2 separate regions of the Homo sapiens genome follow, and region 2 is linked to region 1. Evidence: promoter capture Hi-C in human tissues and cell types (Jung and others, 2019). All regions are on one chromosome and are shown on one strand. Each heading gives the region's core, a stretch centred on a gene start or on the middle of the fragment in contact. The rest is flanking DNA. Distances are from core to core; before and after follow the strand shown.

What was found. The method cuts DNA at HindIII sites, captures the fragments that hold promoters and counts their contacts. A contact is called where the count stands out against the background at its distance.
Region 2: a contact is called between a fragment that was not itself captured here and the fragment with the promoter of CLCA2 in region 1, in 2 of the 25 tissues and cell types used here (liver and lymphoblastoid cells).

What each region holds. Positions count from the first base shown.
Region 1 is chr1:86,422,704-86,428,881 of GRCh38, forward strand. CLCA2 (chloride channel accessory 2) reads left to right here and starts at 1,468. Exons shown (of 14, transcript NM_006536.7): 1 at 1,468-1,730; 2 at 2,636-2,773; 3 at 5,715-5,865. The coding sequence starts at 1,545. The HindIII fragment of the contact is 8,393 bases long and covers 1-3,364 here.
Region 2 is chr1:86,486,354-86,492,329 of GRCh38, forward strand. It overlaps CLCA1 (chloride channel accessory 1), which reads left to right. Exons shown (of 14, transcript NM_001285.4): 7 at 173-400; 8 at 2,643-2,817; 9 at 4,912-5,018. The region is part of intron 1 of LOC124904210 (a long non-coding RNA gene); the gene reads right to left. Among named protein-coding and RNA genes, the nearest start is that of CLCA1, 20 kb to the left of the region's middle. The HindIII fragment of the contact is 7,623 bases long and covers 481-5,976 here.

The DNA of each region.
Region 1 (6,178 bases), core at 218-2,717:
GAAGCATGAGAAAATGATTCAAGCAAGACAGCAAGGGGAAAAAAATTCCCTCAACATCTGTCAACATTGCAGTGCAATATCAAAGCCCAAGTTCAGAAGACTCCAACCTTGCTGGGAAGAAGAGTGACATCACACTGCCCATGAAGATGTTGAAAACAGACAATGTTGGTGAAATCCCTGTTGAGAGCAGGGACAGACCGTTTCCTAAATGCTACACTCCCCTCCCCAGAAATGTTCCGAGACGGGGCCACAGCAGGGAAGAGTCACAGGTTTTGCTTGCTGTGGACCTCTGACGCTGTGAATAAAACTTTTTCTTTAGTTTTACAATAGATGTCACTGTGCGGCATTCTTAAACACAAAGAAGAGGGAGAAACGAGGTTACTAAGATAATTTAGTAACTAAGAGAGAACATGATATATTGAAAAACAGTGGAATTTGGAGTCAGTTGGTTCATTCTAGTACGATGATAATACTCCCAACCTTGAACAAGTTACTTAGATTTTTTTGAACATTAGTTCTGTCACCCATAAAATAGGCATAATAAAATCCATCACTCAAAAAATGTTAGTTTCTTCTCTCATTGGCTAATTTTCATAATCAGAATTTCCAAGACTCATTATTTTCATTTGAAAAGTACAAATTATACCTGCATCAGAGTATTGATATTTAAATGAGTTCATTTGTAAACTTTAAAGCATGAGGTAAATATCAGGTATTATGAATCAGTCATAAAATATTTGCGATGGTTACTATATATTAGATCCTGTTTTTGGTCCTGGAGAAATGGAGGGTTGACTGAAGCAGGGCCTTGCCCTTAGGAGAGAGCTGAAGGAGAAATCTATTCTTCTTCCTGAGGCAGAGAGAAAAGGTAGCAAGGCCAGAGGGAAAGGGCTGCACAGGCACCCAAGTTCCTGGCAGTTGGCCCTCTCTGGGGGATATCTGATATCTGACCTCCAGCCATCAGCTGAGAGCTTGCCCAGACTATCTGACCCAAGGGCTGTAGGGACTGGGCTGCAGAATGGATTTCTAAATCTTCAAAATAAACAGGCAAGGAAATCTTGCAACAAATGAAAAATGACTTGAGGGCAGTAGAAAGTACTTGTGCCAACTGATGGAGGAGGTTATGAAAAATGAGGAGAGGAAAATCACTATAGACTTCTGTGTTTCTACTGCAAGTGGATTGAACAGTCCAGATATACTGATTTCCAGCCCATATTTCCTGCTTTTAAGCTCCTTTGGTCTTATTTCCCTCTTCTTTCTGAAAAGTTATAAAATGAATGAAGGGCAGAATGTTTCTTGCCCAACCATGATTCAGGAGGCAGCTCAGCCACAGAACAGGCAAGTGTAGCATTGCCTGGAGGAAAAGGACTTGTAGAGGCAGGTCCCAGATGGATCCACCCCAGACTTTTCAAAGAAGACACCTCCTTCATCTTGTGTTCTAAAACCTTGCAAGTTCAGGAAGAAACCATCTGCATCCATATTGAAAACCTGACACAATGTATGCAGCAGGCTCAGTGTGAGTGAACTGGAGGCTTCTCTACAACATGACCCAAAGGAGCATTGCAGGTCCTATTTGCAACCTGAAGTTTGTGACTCTCCTGGTTGCCTTAAGTTCAGAACTCCCATTCCTGGGAGCTGGAGTACAGCTTCAAGACAATGGGTATAATGGATTGCTCATTGCAATTAATCCTCAGGTACCTGAGAATCAGAACCTCATCTCAAACATTAAGGTGAGTGGAAATTATGAAATTGATACTAGCATCCCATTTGATCAGACCTGTAGCCTTATTTAGAAGCTAACTACCCTGCCTGGTTTGTATTTGAGTAATACAGAGAACAGCATTTTTAAAAGATAGCGCCACAACGTTATGATTATGGCTAACTAAGCCAGTTTGTTCATCTAATTCTGTGTAGTCTCAGCTCACAGAGTGTTGATCTAGCCCTCTATTTTGTTATTGTTGGTTGCTACTAATTTCAGCTCTTTTGTTTTCCTACATGACTGTTTTTGGGGTAGCAACTTAGAAAAATAACAACCCATTGTGGCAACAAAGATTGAATATTTAACTGATGAATAAGCATGATAATGAGCATGCTTGTTAAAATCATATTGCTAGATTCCATCCTGAGGGTGAGAATTCTCAGGCAGAAAGGGTGAGAGTCTGCACGGTGGGCCAAAAAGCAAAATTATTTCTTTTCACTTGAATGTGCTGTAACATAATTGACTATTTTTACTTTAATATGGCAAGGGAGGATCATAGCTCTATGATGTAAGAGCCTCCATTTAGTATTGCTTTAGTGAAATCAGTAGCATCATAAGGTGTGGTCTTGAATGTGCCCACAGGTGTGACATGAAAAGGATTTGTTCCACAAAAGCTTAAAAGCCTTTCTCAAAATTGGGAAAACTATGAAGGCAAGCACAGACATATAATTAGTGTCCTAAAATCTTCCATATAATCATTTAAAGTTTTTTTAAAAATTTGCTCCTATGTTTTCCCAAAGTCTAGGGCTTTCTCTAAAAGAAATGGGTCTCTTCAAAATATTTCATTGTCTTTTATTACTGTTTAAGCATACCAGAAAACCAAAACATACAGGATTTACAAGTGGTAAAGTAAGTTTTTCTTTTGTCTGGCTGTAGGAAATGATAACTGAAGCTTCATTTTACCTATTTAATGCTACCAAGAGAAGAGTATTTTTCAGAAATATAAAGATTTTAATACCTGCCACATGGAAAGCTAATAATAACAGCAAAATAAAACAAGAATCATATGAAAAGGTAAGAATCCAGGATTTCATTCAATGATCTCAAGGGGAAAAAAAACACCAAAATATACTGTGCTCAAACGATAAAAGTGAGAAGTTAAGTAAAAACAAATCATCAGTATTAACAATGCAAATAATATTAATGGGCAGAATGTTATCAACAAAATATATGAGAATAAATGAATGCAAATTGTGCAGTAAAAAATGAGTCAAATGCCATAGCCTAAGTAGTTTCTCAGAAGATCTCTTTATTTTGTAACTTATGGAGTACTTTCTGAAAAGTTTGGTTGAGGATCAAGAACTAGTTTTATCCTACTGAGGATGAGCTGCAAAGGGAACAGTTCCAATTATGACTATACCCATTTACCATCCTGTCAGGAGCAATAAACATGCATGTCCAGACAGAAATATAAACCACCATGCATATAAAAATATGACTGCCATCTTATGCCATGGTGTAGATTATCAGAATTTCACATTAGCTCAAGTCCAGAATATTGTTTTAGGGGAATAAGGAGATTAGAAGGAAGGGAGGAAGGATGTGGGGATGTGGATGAGTAGGGGAATGGCTACCTTTTTTTTTCCACCTATAGAGGAACTTCACCTTGAAAGGCTCTCATAAGTTGCAGATCATGATTAAGCACCCATGATGATGTCTGGTACATACTAGTGTGCACACTATAAATAAATGATAAATAATATAAATGGTAAATCACTGTTTGAAGTCAACTGTGAACAAGAGTCCATTGCAGCTACCAGAAGGGCCAGAAGTAGAGGCATTGGCAACTTATCTCAGGGTTTCAGCAATGGAGTGGGTTTGAGATTGTAACTACATCTCTAACAGAATGACTCAAACATGTGGTACAGCTTTCCCCTTTCCTTATTTCTGACCCTCAGTATGAAATTTCCTAAGTCTGTTTCATTCTTAGCTCTCCTTCAAAGCTACTCTGTCAGAAATTGAATGGTATAGCAATCCAGATAGGTACCCCAATGTCCTGAAGAAGTTAAAGAGCCTGTGAAAAGCATTTGACCTATGACCAGATGAAAGCATTTGAGAATGCTTGCACATGAAGATAGGATAGGTGGGGGAACTGGGGTAAGCTGGGAAGAGTTAGTGTTTAAGCTCCAACTAAGTGCCAGGCATTTTACATATATTATTTAATTCTCACATAACTTAAAATTAGTTTCTGTGATCACAAATTAAAACACTGGGGCTTGAATAAGGTATGGACTTTGTCCCAAATCTAACAGCTAGTAAATTACAGAGCCATAATTTGAATGTCTATTTGCCTCCAAAACCCATGCTTTTTGCACTAAGCTTTGTTGTCTCTAGCTGTCAATAGAGATTTAATGCATCTATTGGGCCTTCAATAGAACTAAGAAGTATTGGAGACAACAAACACCAAAACCAGGTTGCCATAGGTAACACTTGATCCTAATGGAGGGGAGAGAAATAAGTAAAGCAAAAGTGAAAATATGAGTGAACGGAAAGACCAAAGGAAACAATCGTCCCTGGATGCTGTTCATTTATCTGTTGGATACCAATTCTTTAACCTCAGAATGTCAATTAAGCAAACAGTGAATGATCATTATGTACGGGACCACGCTAGGCACTTCAGAGAACCCAAGGACCAGCAAGGTAGTTCCTGTCCTTCCAAGTCTACAATGAGATGTAGGTAGGAATCATGGAAGGGGGAAAGGGTTAGGAAAAGTAGATAAGAGCTGAATTACTGTGGTCTATAAGGTATAAAGTAACCCCAAACAGCCTCTGAGTATTCCATTCCATGAAGGGCACTCTTTCCTTTTGGCCTCAGGACAAATTTTCAGACATAGGAATGAGGTTTTACCCAAGTGAGGACTATCCAAGAGTGTGACCTCTTCAGCCTTTTTTGTAGGTACTTCCTTGTAATGACCTTGGCTTGAATTCTTATCTTTCTAAAAATAAATGTTAATTATTATAAAAGTAATTTATACTCATTGAAAAAAATTAAATAATGTAGAAACATGGAAAATAAAAATGAAAAATTGTATTGTCCTCTTCTTCTCAGTGGCACACACACAGACACAGATGGACACACATACATACACACACACACACACACACACACACAAAACACATATACATATTGTACATAGAGTGATAATTGTGTATATTGGATCGTATTAGATCTATTTTTCTAAAATCAGCTTTTAAAAAAACTTAACAGCATATTTAACTTTTAAGTGCATATCCAGAACAATCTGTCATCTTTCTTCCCAAAAATAAAAGAAACAATGTTATATATAACATTTTCTTGTCTTGATAGTTATATGAGTGGATATTTCAGTTTTGGACTTAAAATCTGTTTTAGCAACAGTAATGGAAATGGTCAGGCCATAAGATGAAATATAACTTCATTGGAATGATCGTTTTGCTGATCTAATTGGTTACAGGAAAGAAAGGACAAATTTTCAAAGAAATAATGTTCTATTGTCTTACACCAATAAAATAACCCACAGAAAGTTGTTCACAAAAGGCTGTAACATTTTACAGCCTTCTGAATGGTTCTGAACGATGTATAAATGCTTTTAGAATTTCTTCAAATATTTTAATTGCATTTTATAGTGTTTTGTTATATCAGACTTTTACAGGATTGACTTTTGAGAATATTTTAATCTGGAATGTGGAAAGATCAAATGGAAGTAATTAGGTTCCATAAAAATTTGCTAAGCTTTCATAACATAGACCTTTTTGGAAATCCCAAGTGATTTTATTGATATGTAGCTGTGGGTGCATTTTAAACTCCATCCACAAGGTGTTTTTCTTCAATTTTGTTTTTAAATTGGGTTATAATTACATACAATAAAATGCACACATCTTAAGTGTACAGTTCAAAGTGCTTTAATGAATGTATACATTTATGTCACCAACAACAGAGCTGAGAAAGTATTACAAGGCATTTCTTTTAATTTAGGCAAATGTCATAGTGACTGACTGGTATGGGGCACATGGAGATGATCCATACACCCTACAATACAGAGGGTGTGGAAAAGAGGGAAAATACATTCATTTCACACCTAATTTCCTACTGAATGATAACTTAACAGCTGGCTACGGATCACGAGGTAAGTGGGACCAATAAAACAATAGCCATTGGACAATACTACTTATAATATTCTGTGCTTGGTGCTGAAAGGGACTCACTCACAAAACCTGAAACTTGTCAAGGACTTACCACTCAAAGGGGGAGATAGGTCATATGCCCATGCAAAGATGAGGGGCTAAAGTGAACTCGAAAGAGTTTAGCACCAGATTAGTGGCCCAGAGAGGAGTGCTATAAGAATTCAATCAAGGAAACGTCATTTAGAGTCAAGGGTGGTCAGAAATGTCCTCACAAAGGAAAAGGTCTTCAAGATTGAACATCATTTTGATAAATGG
Region 2 (5,976 bases), core at 3,042-5,541, 66 kb after region 1:
AAAGGTGCTGCTAAATATAAATAAGAAATTTTTCCCCATAGGATATGCCTCAAGTAAGCTTATGGTCATTTGCTCTACATTAAGGCAGCCACTTCCAAATTCCCTATGGCCTTTTCTGTTATTAGTCTTTCCATCTAAACGTAACCTGTTTTTCTTTTGCTTCTCCATTTAGACTGGTAACCGCCTCAATCGACTGAATCAAGCAGGCCAGCTTTTCCTGCTGCAGACAGTTGAGCTGGGGTCCTGGGTTGGGATGGTGACATTTGACAGTGCTGCCCATGTACAAAATGAACTCATACAGATAAACAGTGGCAGTGACAGGGACACACTCGCCAAAAGATTACCTGCAGCAGCTTCAGGAGGGACGTCCATCTGCAGCGGGCTTCGATCGGCATTTACTGTGAGATGTGTTTTTCTATTGTAGTTTGGAATGTTTGCAATTTATGTTGCTTAACAAACTTCCATTTCCAGTGTTTCCATACATGCCTAGGGTCCAACTGGATGAGATAACCAAGGAGCAATATTCCATATTTACTTGGAGACTGTTTAGCCACATGAAACAGAATAGGAGGTTGAAAGGGGCTGGCAGGCATAAGGTCTCAGAACCTTGCAGTGTCTTAGGCAGGTTTGCCCTAAGCCTGCTATTTGGGCACATCACACTCAATAGTGCTGTTCCAGTTTCCCATGTGGCAGCAGGAATATGTAGTTTCCAGCTCACATGGCCTGATGTGGACAATGGGCTTGACCATTTCCTCAAGTGCTTTCTGTCTCTCTGACCATTTTGGTCCACTTTGAATATCAGTTCCCTGAAAGTGGTTTCTATTGCATACACAGTCAGCTATGAAACACTTCTCCAGATGCCTGCGTGCATCTGTGTTTTATTACCCCTGTCACCCACCCAAGCTTTGACTAAGGGAGCAAATAAGGGAGGAAAACAGACAATGAAATCACTGATGTGCTGTACCAAACCCTTGCTGTGCAAGACCCTAGGGGAGATGACTAATGCCAGATGGCGTGGTGGTGAAGAGAGAACCTCTGATTCTGCATCTTCCATTCAGATGAGCGAGAGAGAGAGAGTGTGCAGTACACCAGTGGAATTTAGGATGCCCCCTGGGGTGGAGTCTGGGTGTGGGGTGGGAGAAGCTCATGTGGCTTCAGGGTGATGAGGCAAAGGACCTTGGATCTTATACTGTGTTCAAGATCCCTGCTAGTCCCTGCTGCAGGCCCTGGTCAGGTCTGCCCTGTGCTCCTTGCAGTGGTGTCTGCTGTGGCCATATTAGTTTGGCTTGTTCTCTTGGCTTGCTCAGGGCCCAGTAGTCCTCCTCCACTGACTCAGCCCCACCCTGGCTCTCCCCGTTGGAGCAGAGCCCTGAGCACCACCCTATCCTCCATCCAGCCTCTAGCCATACTGTATACTCCTCAGCCTCTGTGGCAGGATTATCCTTCTCTCACCTGCCAACACCCAACTCAGCTGTCTTCTGTCTCCTCTTTAGGATATGTGGCAACATTTGCCTGTTTTCCATGACACACAGCAGTTATGGGGAGTGCGACAAGAAAATCCAAATTGGGCCTCTCTGGCCTGCAGCTTAGTAAGGCCAAAGCCGTGATCACAGCTGACAGGCTTCTGGGCTCTGGGCTCTTTGACACAGCAACAGCAACAGTCACTGTTCTGTTCTCTTCTAGGGAGTCAAGGTAGCCTCCTCTAATAGCTGAAACAGTGAGTGAGGCGGAAACCTCCTCTGCCCTCAGCTTTCCCTTCCACCTTCAGAGGACGCCTTCTTTTCTGAGATTCTAGGCCTTTGGAAGATGCCTTCTTATCTGAGATTCTAGGCCACAGATGCTTAGGCTTGATTTCTTGTTTCCCCTAATTCTGGGTCTCTCCTTCCACTCCGTTTAGGGGAAGAGTGGACTCTTGCTTTCTCTTCTTAAATAGATAGCATTATTCTTTTATCTAATTTTCCTCCCGTCCTAATCTTATTCAACATTGGCAGAAGGAGTATCCTGTCTATACCATATAAAAAAATAAATAAATAATCCAAATATACCAGGAGTAGTTGAGACATAGGTGTCACAGAACAACTAGGAACTGAGAATTAATGGAAATGAAATGTTTTGCTTTAATCAGAAAGGCTGTTAAAAATATTGACAACTCATGTGACCTAGGTAATGACCAATCAGAACCAATGCCAGCCAGAAATAGCTGGTATTGTCAGACTGGTGAATATCATATAAGTTAAAGTCTGCCCTGGGTCTAATATCCCCCCAATATAATCCCCATTAAATGAGATGGTTTCTGAAGGCATCTTGGAAGCTCTGAAAGCCTATCAAGGAGAGACCAAGTGAAGGAAACTAGGAACACCTTCTTTGCTGTTTCCCCAGTGCTGTCCACCCCTAGAGTTGCCCTGCATCCCACACCGTCCCTCTCTGCAGCAGACCAGCCAAGGGGAAAGACAGCGGTCAAGTTCCATGAATGCTGCTGGGTTAAGATTGTATCATTTCAAGACAGACAGATATTTGGTCATTCCCAGACAATTTTGGTTATTCCCTCTAGAATTTCTTTTCTCCTTTCCTGTAAGCAGAATTTTCATAAACACTTTGGCCACCCTAAGTCTGATAACTCGTGCCCTAAATTCTGTCCTTAGGTGATTAGGAAGAAATATCCAACTGATGGATCTGAAATTGTGCTGCTGACGGATGGGGAAGACAACACTATAAGTGGGTGCTTTAACGAGGTCAAACAAAGTGGTGCCATCATCCACACAGTCGCTTTGGGGCCCTCTGCAGCTCAAGAACTAGAGGAGCTGTCCAAAATGACAGGTGAGGGATGATTTGCTGAGACCCCCGGTATTGTCTCTCCTACTGGACTGTGAGCTCCAGTGAACTGGGGAGTGGGGGAAAGATGGGATGGAGAGAGATAGGATAACCTAATTGGCTAACTAGCCACCCTTACCCCTGAATGACTGTTTAAGTGGACTCTGCCCATTTATTTTAAAGCTTTGTGTCTAGGACTAAGGCAGCCTGGAGAAGATGGAACTAGCACAGCACTCTAGTGAGGACTCAGGACCTTCTTCCCGGGCCAGGAACCACTCCTTTCCAGTGGCAGCTGGCCAAGAGACCTAGGGGAGACAGATGACAAGCCACTAACTACATAACACCATGGCATAAGTGCTATATTAGCAACAGAAAGTACAATAAAGCACAAATAAGGGAGGCTTTAACTTTACCTGGAGAAAAAGCATTCAAGAAACAGGAGAAGTAGCAGGGAAGAGCAAAGGGCATGTTAAACAAGGCAAAAGATCACTCCCAAAATGGAATACAATGCAGTTCCTCCATAAAACCTTCACGTATTGTGTGTCTAACTCCCATACACAGACAGATGGTTAAAATAGATTCCATGTGTCACCAGCTTCTTTAGCAGAGTAGGTGAACACATATTTTTCTTTTTTAACTTAGGGATAATATTGTGGATCTCAATTATTATACTGAGTTGCCTTCTGAGGCCACTAAAATGCCAGAGCTGTTTATTCCTAATACTACCTGTCCTAGGCTGGGTTTCTTAGAAGCAGAGCCTGAGACAGGGATTTGGGTCCATGCAATTTATAGGAGAGAGAGCTCTTAGGAGAAAAGGAAGGAGGAAAGGATAGGGCCAGGGAAGGAGCTAAGCACTGATGCAGACCTAGTCGGAGTCTAGCTGTGCCCACAGGGGACTCTGGAATGGAAAGTACATCACAGACTTGTCTCACCTTGAGACAGGAGGGTGGCCTTTTGCACCATTGTGTCTATCAGTCTTTGGCTGTGGACTGTCAGAACAGGGCAGAGGAGAGGGGCATGTTATTTCTCTAGGTAGGGTGGCCCCTTTTGGTAAGATAATTCCCTGGAAGAGGAGGCAGCTATAAGCCAATGCCTAGAGCAGCTGGGAAGAGATGCACTTGGCTGGGTAAGGGGATGTGCGTGGGGCATCAACAGCCTTACTGAAATTATTTCCTTAAGTTCAGATGGAATTATAATAGTTAAAAAGTGCTTTCACATCAACTAACTTAGTGACACCTATTCTAAATAGCCCAGGACTGCCTGGCCTGGTGTAAAATCCTGTTTTTATAATATACTATTCTGTAAGTGTCCCTTTGTCCACTGTTTTTTCTTGCTGCTGTCACATATGTGCCTTTCCTCATTTAGAAGAAAACTCTAAAGCCACGTTTGTTGGAATTATGTTTCAAATAAGAGTAAATCGATAGTCCTGGAGTACGGCTTAATGACTTCTCTCATGTAAAAGTGCAGGACCTTTAATATGTAGATTTTATGACATCAATTTATATCATAAATTAATATCAAATCATATCAGAGATTCATGGCTGCTTTGCAGATAGTTGAAGTAGCCAGGTGACTGAGATGTTGCTGAAGCTATTATTTACTAAGATTTAAAAATTAGTGGCTGGGTGTGGTGGCTCACTCCTGTAATCCCAGAATTTTAGGAGGCCAAGGCAGGTGGATTGATTGAGCCCAGGAGTTCAAGACCAGCCTGAGTAACATGGCAAAACCCATCTCTAAAAAAAAAAAAAAAAAAAAAAATACAAAAATTAGACATGTTGGCATATGCTTGTAATCCCAGCTACTTGGGAGCTGAGGTAGGAAGATCGCTTGAGCCTGGAAGGTGGAGGTTGCAGTGAGCCAGGATCATGCCACTGTACTCCACCCTGGGCAACAGAGTGAGAGCCTGTCTTAGAAAAAATAAATAGGTTAAAAAAATACTATCAAATTCTGAGTTAATGTAGGCACCTATTTGATGTTGATCTATTTATACTTTAATAACACAAAGGGATATTTATATTGTATGCTCTCTAAACAACAGCTAAAATGTTGCAAATAGTTGCTTTCTGGAAAATAATTTCTGAAAATGTAATTGCATTTTAGGAGGTTTACAGACATATGCTTCAGATCAAGTTCAGAACAATGGCCTCATTGATGCTTTTGGGGCCCTTTCATCAGGAAATGGAGCTGTCTCTCAGCGCTCCATCCAGGTTGGAGTTCTTAATCTTTGGTTTTTCATATTTACACATAATCATAGCCAAGATGGAGAATTTAATGGCTAAAAGTTTTAAGTTTTCCACTCTTCTGGTACTGAATTAAAATGAAAATAGAAGGTCCAGCTTGATATTAAACATTATTCCTAAAATGCAACACTACTCATTTAAACAAGGCAATTAGTGTCTACTTGTTTGGAAGCAATACCAAGTGAATTCCTCACAGAAGTCAGCAGATAAAATGTCATATGTCCAAGAATTCTTTTTTAACATCTCTGAACAAGCAACTAGAGCAATATAATTGGCTCAGAATTTTCTTCAGAGTAGATCATCTCAATTACAAATTTTCTGGGACAAGTGTCCAGGGATTACTTGCTTTATTTTTCCATTACATCAAATTTCTGTTGTTTGCCAAGATTTACATATAATGGACAGAAAGTGCTTTGTACTGTAAAAAGCCAGTGGTGTGAGTCCAGACCCCTGGATCTTGGTCCTCGGTCTGCCATTAACTATGTGACCTAGGCAAAGAACTTCACCTCTGTGGACCTTCATTTCTCCACCAGGTAGAGACAGAAAACTTCCAATGGCCCATCTGGTCTAAAATTTCAAGAAAACCAAATTGCCTTTTAAAAGTCTTGAAACTATTAAGAAAAAAGAAAAATGTATTTTTTCAATGCTCTTTTTTAGTAATTGCAGAAATTATTCACATTAATTTTTAAACTAGAGAGAGTGAACAATCAGCATTCACACTGGTGTGAATTATAATTTTTATGATGAAAGTTCAGATAAAGATAAAGGAAAACTGTAATGTCAAAGCCTAATAATGAGAGATTTTGAAACCATAGGCTTTCTGGCTTACCAATGGAGCATTTATTCAATCTAGGAAGACAGCAATTATACCCATCTGGGTTATTCTGGTTCAGATTTAGAAAATTAAATGCAAGGGCCTGCTTTG